Regions from separate parts of the Homo sapiens genome. Here all the other regions are linked to region 1. Evidence: promoter capture Hi-C in human tissues and cell types (Jung and others, 2019). All regions are on one chromosome and are shown on one strand. The core of a region is centred on a gene start or on the middle of the fragment in contact, and the rest is flanking DNA. Distances in the headings are between cores, read along the strand shown. Region 1 holds the start of FOXB1 (forkhead box B1). Region 2 has its middle 100 kb from the start of FOXB1. Region 3 has its middle 110 kb from the start of FOXB1. Region 4 has its middle 65 kb from the start of FOXB1.

Region 1 (2,700 bases), core at 71-2,570:
TTTCATAGCAATTTGATGATGATGATGATGACGGCAGCGACGACGATGAGGATAATGATAATAATAATAATGATTCATTTAACCCTTCCAAGGCGAATCCGAACCGAAGGGAGCCTGCTGCTCGCACCAGGCGGAGTGACCCAAGGCACATTCCCCGCTCCCCAAGAAGGAAAACTCTATGGTTCTTTCCCCAAGTTGTAGAAGATACTGCTGTCTTAGTGGGATCGCAGGCGGCTTTTGCTACACTCTAAATCCTAAATAAGTTCTCCATACCAAAAAAAGCGGCAGTTGGGGGATGGGGGGTGGGAGGTTGGGGGGGTGGGAGGGCTGGGAAGGGGAGTTCCGGGTGTAAAATGAAAACTTCCAGGATGTGCCTGAGTCCTAAAGTTTCAAACCACCTGGGAAAAGCGAGAGCCCCTGAGGCTTACCTGGTGATAAACTGTGTCAAACAAACTCAGGCCCTCCCCAGGTCCGCACAACATTTGCCCCAACAGCTCCTGAGCCTCCATCCTGTGTCCAACCAAATTCCCGGAGGACTTTTAAAGCAAATACCTGGACTCTTCGCCCAGATACACTATTTTAATTTTTAAAAATTTGGTCAATACAGTTACATTCAAAATGGGTTCTTACATGGGGATGTCCAATCACATTTTGAAAGTATTTGTAAACCCCATCACTTTTTCAAAGCTACACACTAACTATACAAAGCTGAAGCAGCTGCATAGGAAAGTCAAGTCAAATTTCGACCTAACTCTCCGGGGACTGGGGGGCAAGGGTGTGTTTTCATTATTATAACCCATGCAACCAACCCCGGGTAGTGCTAAGCGCAGGAAAAGGGTCGGCTTCAGGGGAAAGCCGTGCCTAAAGTTACCTAACGATACAAACCGGATACAACGCAGAGGAAACAGAATACCCCAGCCAAGCAATTTCCATGTCAAACATCATCCGCGCGGCTGCTCCATCTGTGAACGTGAGTGGTCGCCTGGCTCCCTCTTCCGCGGCGGCCGCTTCCTCATACCTTCACACGGCGCACACCGGCCGGCGCGTCCAGCTGCCTGCCCAGTGGCCGAGGCTCTTCCCCCTCGCCCAGTCTTGAGCTGGAAGTGATTCCTATTGGCCAAGGTGTCCATGTAAATAGGTGTGAAAGAAACCAGAGCTGGCCGGGCTCTCCCTTCTCGCTCAGTCCCCTCCCTCTGCAGCCCCCGCTCCCCCTCCTCTTCCTCCTCCTCCCAAGGCGATTGTCATATGATAGCTAAGAAGTGGCACATTAATGAAGCGCCGCTACAGGGGTCTTTTCTGCTCCTGTCACCGCTTAAAACTATCAGATGGTTCGAGGGAGGACATGGAGGCAGCCACCTAGCTCAGCGGAGACGCGGAGCCCACAGCAGCGCCCTCCGGAGCCCTAACACGTCGCTGCCACCATCCGCGCCGGGACTCCGCAGCCGAGCTCGGCCGCCCGCAGGACGCTCCAGGAGCGTCGCGGACCGGGCGGCACGGGACGCTGCGGGGCTGAGCTCAAGAGCCCAGGTTCGCGCCGAGTCCAACCGGACCCGGACGCTGCGCGCGGAGTGCGCGTCGAGTGCGCGCCGAGAGAGAAGCGGCGCGCAGCGGCGTCCTCCCGGATGCGGACGCGCAACTTGAAGCAACTTTAAGGTGAGCAGCTCTCTGTTCCGTCCCTGCCCCCTATTCTGGCCCCAGTACCGACTTACTTCCCGGCTATCCTCGCGCCGTTCGCCGGCTTCCCCTCCCGCGCCCACTAAGCCCGCAAAGTTGCTGGCGAAAGAGTCCGGGCGCTGGCTGATCGAGCGCCGCAGGCCCCACCCCCGACCCCCGAAGTCTGTTACTCGGTCTGGCTGACCCCGCCGGTGTCTCTGTGCATCCATGCTACCTTTCCCTATTACCCACCCCCTTCCCAGATCCGAGCAGTCCGCCGGCCCGCGCGGACCCAGAGCAAGAAGAGGGCGAGGAAGAAGATGCCTCGGCCCGGCCGCAACACGTACAGCGACCAGAAGCCGCCCTACTCGTACATCTCGCTGACCGCTATGGCCATCCAGAGCTCTCCCGAGAAGATGCTGCCGCTGAGCGAGATCTACAAGTTCATCATGGACCGCTTCCCCTACTACAGGGAGAACACGCAGCGCTGGCAGAACAGTCTGCGCCACAACCTCTCCTTCAACGACTGCTTCATCAAGATCCCGCGGCGGCCGGACCAGCCAGGCAAGGGCAGCTTCTGGGCGCTGCACCCAAGCTGCGGGGACATGTTCGAGAACGGCAGCTTCCTGCGGCGCCGCAAGCGCTTCAAGGTGCTTAAGTCCGACCACCTGGCGCCCAGCAAGCCAGCCGACGCGGCGCAGTACCTGCAGCAGCAGGCCAAGCTGCGGCTCAGCGCGCTGGCGGCCTCGGGCACGCACCTGCCACAGATGCCCGCCGCCGCCTACAACTTGGGCGGCGTGGCGCAGCCCTCGGGCTTCAAGCACCCCTTCGCCATCGAGAACATCATCGCGCGGGAATACAAGATGCCTGGGGGGCTGGCCTTCTCCGCCATGCAGCCGGTGCCCGCTGCCTACCCGCTCCCCAACCAGTTGACTACCATGGGCAGCTCGCTGGGCACCGGCTGGCCACACGTGTATGGCTCCGCCGGCATGATCGACTCGGCCACCCCCATCTCCATGGCGAGTGGCGACTACAGCGCCTACGGCG
Region 2 (2,700 bases), core at 185-2,684, 100 kb after region 1:
TGTTTAAGCAGATTTAACCTGTGATGTATTAGAAAGAGCATGGGCTTTGGAGTCAGACTAATTTGACAGAGGAAATGCCGAATTCTGCCTGGAATTCCTCCACTAAGGAAAAGAATTCTAATCCTCACCATAACCTAAATCATTTGTGATATACTCCAAAATATTTGCTTATAGTGGACGTCAGTGAAAATACTAGAGTTCTCGTTATAAAAATGTTTAAATTTTTGTCTTTTTAAAAAATTGTATCGTTGAGTAGCATCTATTGTTTAATTTGACTTTTGTCATAGGAATTTAAGCTTGTAAAAAGTTCATGAACAAACAGCCAACCCCTTTTTTACTGCGGATTAAAACAGGAACTGATTGCTAAAGATTAAATATTGGTAATAGTTCTCAACTTTATAAATTAAAAGGTTGGAGGCTCTTAAAAGACACTTATTCTCCTCTTGCCCTGCTAGAAAAGCAACATCTTCTGCAAAGTTGTCCACCCTTGTGATAAGGATGACATTAGAGATGATGTCACCAAACAAAACTAGTACCAAAGCAAATCAATACAGATTTTTCTCTCTAATCTTAACTATGCAAAGTGCTGGGAGTTGTGAGGAACCGTGACAAACTATTTTCTGGATAACTGAAAAATAAATGAATTACATTTTTTATCTTAACTCTTCATGTTGACTTCAAAGTCTAACACGCATTTTTATTTTAGTATTCTAATTTGCCCCAAATGTTACTGAGTTGGCCTTTGATTCCATATCTTATATTATCTTTGGCCAACATGTATAATAATTATAAACACTTTTTGTCAAGTAGCATAGTTGTAGGAAATGGAGCTTTGGCTGAAAGCAGGTGTACTGACTGCAGGTCAGTCCATTGGAGTTTAAGTGGCTCTTTAAAATTTTTCTTAAGTAATATTTTTGTTGTGATTTGGAACTTTGAGGGAAAGAAATGTATATTTACTGAGTGACTATATGATTCAAGCACACTCGTAGATTTTCCACTGGGAGGTATCTTAATCACACACCATCCTGAGTGACACCAACCATCAATTCCACTCTTTAATGAGAAATCTGAGCCAGAAGTAGACATTCCCCCTCTGTCAGATTTGATTCCAAAGTCTATGCTCTTTCTAATGGTCCACAAGGCAAACATGTTCCAACTTGTTCGGTCTGTAATAGGTTCCAAAAGTCTATGGGGTTGGGGGGTTGGGGGGTTGGGGGAGAATGCATGGCTTCTTATATGAAAAATCTCTTACAAGAACTGTAGAAGTTTACAATGTTGTTAGCCTCAGTTTTAGTTTTAAGATCTTTTATTGTGTATTCAAAAGGTGAGTACCACAAAGATGTCTAAAACTTAAAGTTTGCAAATCCAAGTTCTCTGTCTTCCCCATTGAATCTATTTTTATTCTTTTAGCCAAGGCTCAATTACAGAGGTGGGAACACATGGACAAACTGAAGTGTTGTCTCTGCTCAGTGACAAACATTTCATACCACACCAACCCCCAAGGGAGCTATTGAAATTTTCATTACAGATGGAAAAACTAAGGCGAATGATGCCTGATGTCACATCCTAGCTGTCTGATGCCAAAGCTCATCTTTCAAGTACAATGGGTTCCAACATCCCACATACAAGGTAGAAACTTGGAAATCAATCTAGAATTCTTCTTCTTCCTTACTTCTCACATCTACTTGTTCACTAAGTCACATTCATTCTGACTCTCAAACAGCTTGCTCCATCCCCACTGCTATTGCTTTTATTTGAGTCCTCGTGTTTTCTCACCTGGTCTTGAGCAAGAGCCTCCTCACTAAACTCTTGAATGTCTTTCATCCCCCCACCCCATCACATACACCCCATAATATACTACACTGCTGCCAGAATGAACTTTCTAAGCTCCAACCGAATTATATCCCTTGTTTAACATCTCTCAGTAGGCTAACGGAGTGGCTTGTGCTTGTAATCCCAGCACTTTGGGAGGCCAAGGGAGGATCACTTGAGCCCAGGAGTTCAAGACCAGCCTGGGCAACATAGTGAGACCTTATTTCTACGAAAACTTTTTTAAAAATTAGCTGGGTGTGGTGGTGCGAGCTTGTAGCCCCAGCTACTCCAGAGGCTGATGTGGGAGGATTGCTTGAGCCCAGCATGTTGAGGCTATGGTGAGCTGGATGACAGAGCCAGAGCCTGTCTCAAAAAAATAAAAATAAAATAAAATATTTCAATGGTTCACCATTCTCTGCTATTTGAAGTCCAAACTCTTTTCATCAAAAAAGGCCCCTCATTATCTCACCCCTAGAGTCTTTTCACTTTCTCAACTACTCCCTCATGCAACCCCGCCAACCCCCTTATAGTTCTTGATTTAACTACACAAATATGTCTTAAACCCCTGCAATGTGCCAGGCACTGCACTAGGCGTGAGGATACAGCAAGGAACATGGCAGAAATAGTCATTGGCTCCATGAGGTTATGAGTCTGAAACACACATTAGTAAGTAATTACCTCTGTGATGAATGCCACAAAATGGTAACTGCAAGGGCACATGGCCAAATGTGTCAGGGAAAGCGTGACATTGAGCCTGAGATGTGGAGAATGCCATGAGTTGGTCCAATCCAACAAAGATGAGAGGGAAACCGTAAGTAGATAAGCAGTACTTCTTCTGTGCTGCACAATACCTTTGACATACCTTCATGCAAATTCCTATGGTGCATT
Region 3 (2,729 bases), core at 60-2,559, 110 kb before region 1:
CTGCCTCAGTTTCTCTGTATTACACTCCACTCTGCCAGTATTACCAAAGCTGGGCCTTGGACTTTCAGCCAATCAGCAGGGGTCTTGAGGCTTTATTGGGCCTATGCTCACTCCTTCTTCCAGGAGCACACCCCATACCTGCGAGCGGGAGGCCCACCATTCACTCATTCTTTCATTTAACAGATAATTATTTACCATCTATTAGATAGCAGGCTCATGCTTGGCACAGAGCACATACAGGATACAGAAATGAAAGAAACAAAATCTGTACTTTCAAGAGCACTCTGGAACGCAGAAGAAACCTGCCTTTCAATCAATAATTACAACACAGTGTGTGCCAAGAACAGCATTAAACGTGTTCAGGATGAAGAGCTAACACAGAGATAGGAGTGGCTGGTAACATCAGGGAGGAAGGCAGGAAAGCCTTTCTAGAGAAATACAGCCTTTCTGGATTTTGAAAACCAAATAGTTTGTCAGAAAAATAGAGTAAAGCTAGAGAGGAAGAAAGAACAATTGAGACAGAAGGAATGGAGCATCGGCTAGGCTCACAATCCTTCAACTTCTACCCCTCACCCCGAGGACCACTCACCTTCCTGCCTCCTCTGGCCACCATGCTCTGCTTAATGAAATGGGGCCCCTGGACAGCACTGGAATTGACCACATCTTCCACTTCTGTGGATTCAGTATTTTAATTCTTGGCCAAGCTTACAGGGGCCAGCAGTCCCAGCCACAGCCAGACTGTCTCAGATTCTGTCCATGGTCCTGAATCATTCCTCCTCCCCTGGTCCTTTAGTTGCGATCCCAACAGGTGCTGCTTCCAAATTCAACTAAATTATGTCCCCAAGGATGTCATTGAACACTTCCTGGATAAAGAATACTTCCTGGATGAAGAGGGGGACAGAAAGTAAACTGGACCTGGAGGATGATAAGATTTCAGTGGGTGAGAGAGACAAAGAATTTGAGGTGGGGGTTGGGGTGTAGAGAAGGTAAATCCAGCCTTGGCACTGTGAGGGAGTGGTGTACTCCTCACTGAGCAGAATGAGGAGGAACTTAAAAGGTGAATATTTACATTGGAAAACACACTATTTCAAGCAGAAAGTTTCCAAGCAAACTGTCACATAAAGGCACCAAGGGCATGGTGTATCCAAACAATCCTGAGCATGAGACCTTGTCCCACCATGGGTCAGAGTTGAGCAACATTCTGAAGCTCCAATTTGTCCTAAGTGAACCACTGTGCAGAACTAACGAGGTCATCAATTTTTCTTCCAGCTAATGAGCTCGTCAGGAAGGGCGTGATGTGGGAAGATGATGAGATGAGCAACCAAACCTGATTAAATAGTTTCACCTTCATCAAAGAATCAGACACAGAGCTGAGGCCCCATTATTCACTGGGAAGGGATAATTACATAGAAGAGGCTGCCATCAGAAACACCTCTCCCCTCACCCAACTGGCTCTGCTCCCTCAAGTACAGGGAGTGTGTTGGACCCAGGAACAGACACTCATTTAATTCAACAACTATTTACAGGCAGCTTGCTCCATGCCAGGTGTGGACCAAGAACAAAGAATGAAGATGAATAATACCTTGTCCTTGCCTTTAAGTAGTTTATGGTTGATGTAGTATGGAATAACAACTAACTGAAATATGCTATGGAATGTCCTCCCAGCATTTCAAACAAAGTGCTGTGGGCATAGAGGCGAGGAAAGGAAAAGAGAGAACCAGGGACGTTGTCTCATAGGTGGTCACCCTTGAGTTGGGCTTTAAAGATGAGTAGGGCCAGGTGTGGTGGCTCACCCTTGTAATCCCAGCACTTAGGGAGGCCAAGGTGAGAGGATCACTTGAGCACAGGGGTTTGAGACCAGCCTGGGCAACATAGGGCCTATATTTTTGCAGCCATTTTCTCTTTTGGTCATTTGGTTATAGCAGTTTAACTTAACCTTAACTGATGTAGAAATTGATACCATAGGTGAGGTGCTGCCATAACCCAAACCTAAAATAATAGCTACCACTATTGTCATGCTTTATTCCTTCACTGTTCTTTGCTTTTTTTTTTAAATTTTATTTATTTATTCTTTTTTTTGAGATGGAGTCTTGCTTTCTCGCCCAGGCTGGAGTGCAATGGCGTGATCTTGGCTCACTGCAACCTCTGCCTCCTGGGTTCAAGCGATTCTCCTGTCCCAGCCTTCCAAGTAGTTGGGATGACAGGCATAAGTCACCATGCCCAGCTAATTTTTGTATTTCTAGTAATGACTGGGTTTCACCATGTTGGCCAGTCTGGTCTCAAACTCCTGACCCCAGGTGATCCACCCACCTCGGTCTCCCAAAGTGTTGGGATTACAGGCATGAGCTACGCTTGTTGCCTTCTTAAAACATATCATATTCTGCTTTGTAACTTTTTTTGCTTCCTTGATGAACTCCACTACTAGACATTAAGTTCTTTTAGGGTATGGACTGAGTCTTAGTTACCTCTTCATTCTTGCCACATCCAGCCTGGTGTCCTCAGGTAACAGGCAAAAAAAGTTTCTTGAATCTACTCTGTACTCAGAAGTCTTGAGACACTATGTATTAGTTTCAATTCAATTCCCCTTTAGGGAAGAAAAGTTATGTCCTTAAATAGCTATTTCCTCCAATGCCTGACATACTATGAGCCAGTAACTCTGACGTGCATTCATGGCATGATATTAGATTCTTGTGGCAAGGCATTGCATCACAAACATAAATTTACACAAC
Region 4 (2,844 bases), core at 26-2,525, 65 kb before region 1:
GCTACTCAGGAGGCTGAGGTGGGAGGATCACCTGAGCCCAGGAGGGTGAGGCTGCTGTAAGCTGAGATCACAGCACTGCACTCCAGCCTGGGCAATCGGAGCGAGAGCCTGTCTCAAGAAAAAAAAGAAAAAAAAAAGCCTTAAAAAGTTTATACCCTTTGACCCATCTCTATCCCTTCTAGGAGCCTTTTGTAAAGAAACTAGCCTACATACCTAAAAATGTTTATGCATTTATGTTAGTTACAGCCTTAATAATAACAGTGAAAAATTGGAAAGAGATTCCCTTATTTTGACTCATTTAGGTTAAGTAAACTATGCTATATCCAGTGAATTATCATACATCTGTTAAATACATTTACAAAGATATGAAATATATTTACAAGCTTATATTTATAAATATATTTATAAATATATGTTTATATACTATAATTATTAATGTATTAGTATGTTCATTATTATATAAATATAATACGGTTAAGTGCATTTACAAATTTATATTAACAAGAGAAATATGTATGTTATAATGTTAAATTAAAATTGCATCTCTGGTCATTAGGGGGAAGCAGTTTCTAGTATGTTGGAAAAAATTTACACCTTATATAAAGGAATGACTGGAAGTCAGTGTACCAGTTTTGTCTCTAAGTGTGAAACTATGATTGAGTTTCCCCCTTCCCTCTACTTTTCTACAGTGTCCAAATAATCTGTGCACAATGAGTGGTGATTATAATATGGAAGTAAAGTTTAATTTTGGAACTAAATGGGCAAGGATATTTGCCTCTATTGCGAGAGGTGGGCAGCAGACAGACTGGAGGAGTTTTGATCTATTATTTGGTAACTCCATATAAGTCACATTCCTTTTAGGGCTGGGGTTGGGTCTGGGTGTGGTGGCAGCTCAAGGAAATCATCTTTCTATTTCTAACTCTGAATTAGTTTTCCATATGGGGTGAGGGATGGAGAACATCCAGTCGGAGCGAAAATTCTCAGAGAGATGCCCATAGGTCATTCTATGAGATAGGAACATAAGAACCTTCTTCGCCAGTCGTTTAAGAGCTCCACTTGCCTGTAGGTGAGAAGATGACACCCATGAGGAAAAGACAGGCAGGGAGCTGGCAGGGAAGGAGGCCAAGCAGTGGACCAGTGGAGTGGTGGGGCTTGGGGCATGGCTAGGAAGCAGCTAGCCTGGACTTGAGAAGTTTGACAGTTTTATATGTTTCTTATACTTCTTTTGTTCATTTCCTTTTGGCTTTCCCTTGGCATCTGATAACTGGCTTTAAGACCAGTCTCTCTCGAGCTATTGCCTGTGCTGTAACCAGAGAGTTGAGGCAGGACAGGTGGCAGGAACTGCAGACCAAATGCGCTTAGCCTCTGCCTGTCCTTTTGGAGGAAGCCAAAACTCATGGCTGTTTATATTGTCATCATTTGGTTAAGGCCAAAAGACCATTTTCAGATGTCTTTTAAGTTACTTTTTAATTTATACTTAAAATTACATAGCCATATTTTGCTAGAGAACAAAAAGTATATTCATAACTTGAAGTCTGAATTTTTGCTTAAGTTTGCGTCAAACTTGCAGAAGTCACTCGTCAAATCCTAATGGAAGTGTCCTAAAGACCATGTCTACAAGGGGTTGAATCCTTGGCTGACGCTTTGAGGTGTCACCTGCGCTGACACCACTGTGGCCTCCTGATTTGGGCCAGGGCCTCACCTCCTCTTGTGGGCACTACCTTTATAGCTCCCCTTCTCTGGGTTAATTTCTGATGAATTCTTACCAGCTTGCTGCTTGTCACCTGATTGTCAGGGTCGCAATGATTGGATGGAAACGCAAAATACAGGGAATCATGCAACCCCCTTTGATCAGGAGTCAGACCTCTCTCTCCCACCCCATCCTACCCTTGAAAAAAAAAGAGGCACACTGCGTAAGAAAATACATCAAGGCGATATAAAACAAGAGAGTGTGGGGGCAGGAGTGTAGTGATTTAAGCTTTTCAGAAACTATTTTTCAGAACAAAAGACTGGCAATAAGGAAAAAATTTAATTGTACATGACAGTAAAAGCAAAACTAGCTGGGTGTAGTGGCTCACACCTATAATCCCAGCACTTTGGGTGGCCGAGGCGGGTTGATCATCTGAGGTCAGGAGTTCGAGACCAGCCTGGCAAACATGGTAAAACCCCATCTCCACTAAAAATACAAAAATTACCCGGGCGTTGGTGGTGCACACTTGTAATCCCAGGTACTCTGGAGGCTAGGGCAGGAGAATCGCTTGAACCTCGGAGGCGGAGATTGCAGTGAGCCAAGATTGTGCCACTGCACTCTAGCCTGGGCAACAGAGTGAGACTGTGTCTCAAGAAAAAAAAAAAAAAGCCAATTATGCTGTTTCTGTTAAGCAAATTTTACTTTCACATTTTAAAAATAATCCAGAATTTAAATGACAAGGGAATTTATAAAATTATATGTATGTGTGTATATATACTTATATTTATTTATTTATAGGTGTGACTCCACAATTCAGCAACTGCTGTGCTGCCTACTACAAATCACAGCTCATTTTAAAGCCTTAACTTAGTGTTAAATAAGAGGCGAGAGTTAATTTAGGGAGCGATTACAGTGGAGGCGTCTTAGAGCAACAGTCATTGCGGCACAATTAGTCTTCAATTTGTAATTGAGAGTAACTCCCACAGGACTAACTCAATGATGAATTTCAAATAAGGAGACTTCAAAACTATGAGGAAAAATGGCTAATTACAAGCTAAGGGAAAAGGGAAGGTGGTGAAAGAAAAGAAGTTGAATCTATACGATTTGACTGGTGATTCCTTAAAATCCGGAATTGCCAGAAGGCTTTGCAATTG

Evidence for each region. Contacts are between HindIII fragments. The study calls those that stand out against the background at their distance.
Region 2: a fragment that was not itself captured here is called in contact with the fragment with the promoter of FOXB1 in region 1 in 3 of the 25 tissues and cell types used here (liver, mesendoderm cells and spleen).
Region 3: a contact is called between a fragment that was not itself captured here and the fragment with the promoter of FOXB1 in region 1, in 4 of the 25 tissues and cell types used here (heart left ventricle, small bowel, spleen and 1 more).
Region 4: a fragment that was not itself captured here is called in contact with the fragment with the promoter of FOXB1 in region 1 in 2 of the 25 tissues and cell types used here (dorsolateral prefrontal cortex and spleen).

What each region holds. Positions count from the first base shown.
Region 1 is chr15:60,002,991-60,005,690 of GRCh38, forward strand. It overlaps FOXB1 (forkhead box B1), which reads left to right and starts at 1,321. Exons shown (of 2, transcript NM_012182.3): 1 at 1,321-1,653; 2 at 1,917-2,700. The coding sequence starts at 1,974. RefSeq lists an enhancer at 1,002-1,517. The HindIII fragment of the contact is 14,342 bases long and covers 1-2,700 here.
Region 2 is chr15:60,103,372-60,106,071 of GRCh38, forward strand. No RefSeq gene overlaps it. Among named protein-coding and RNA genes, the nearest start is that of FOXB1, 100 kb to the left of the region's middle. The HindIII fragment of the contact is 4,415 bases long and covers 1-2,700 here.
Region 3 is chr15:59,892,391-59,895,119 of GRCh38, forward strand. No RefSeq gene overlaps it. Among named protein-coding and RNA genes, the nearest start is that of FOXB1, 110 kb to the right of the region's middle. The HindIII fragment of the contact is 6,082 bases long and covers 1-2,729 here.
Region 4 is chr15:59,937,972-59,940,815 of GRCh38, forward strand. No RefSeq gene overlaps it. Among named protein-coding and RNA genes, the nearest start is that of FOXB1, 65 kb to the right of the region's middle. The HindIII fragment of the contact is 4,772 bases long and covers 1-2,844 here.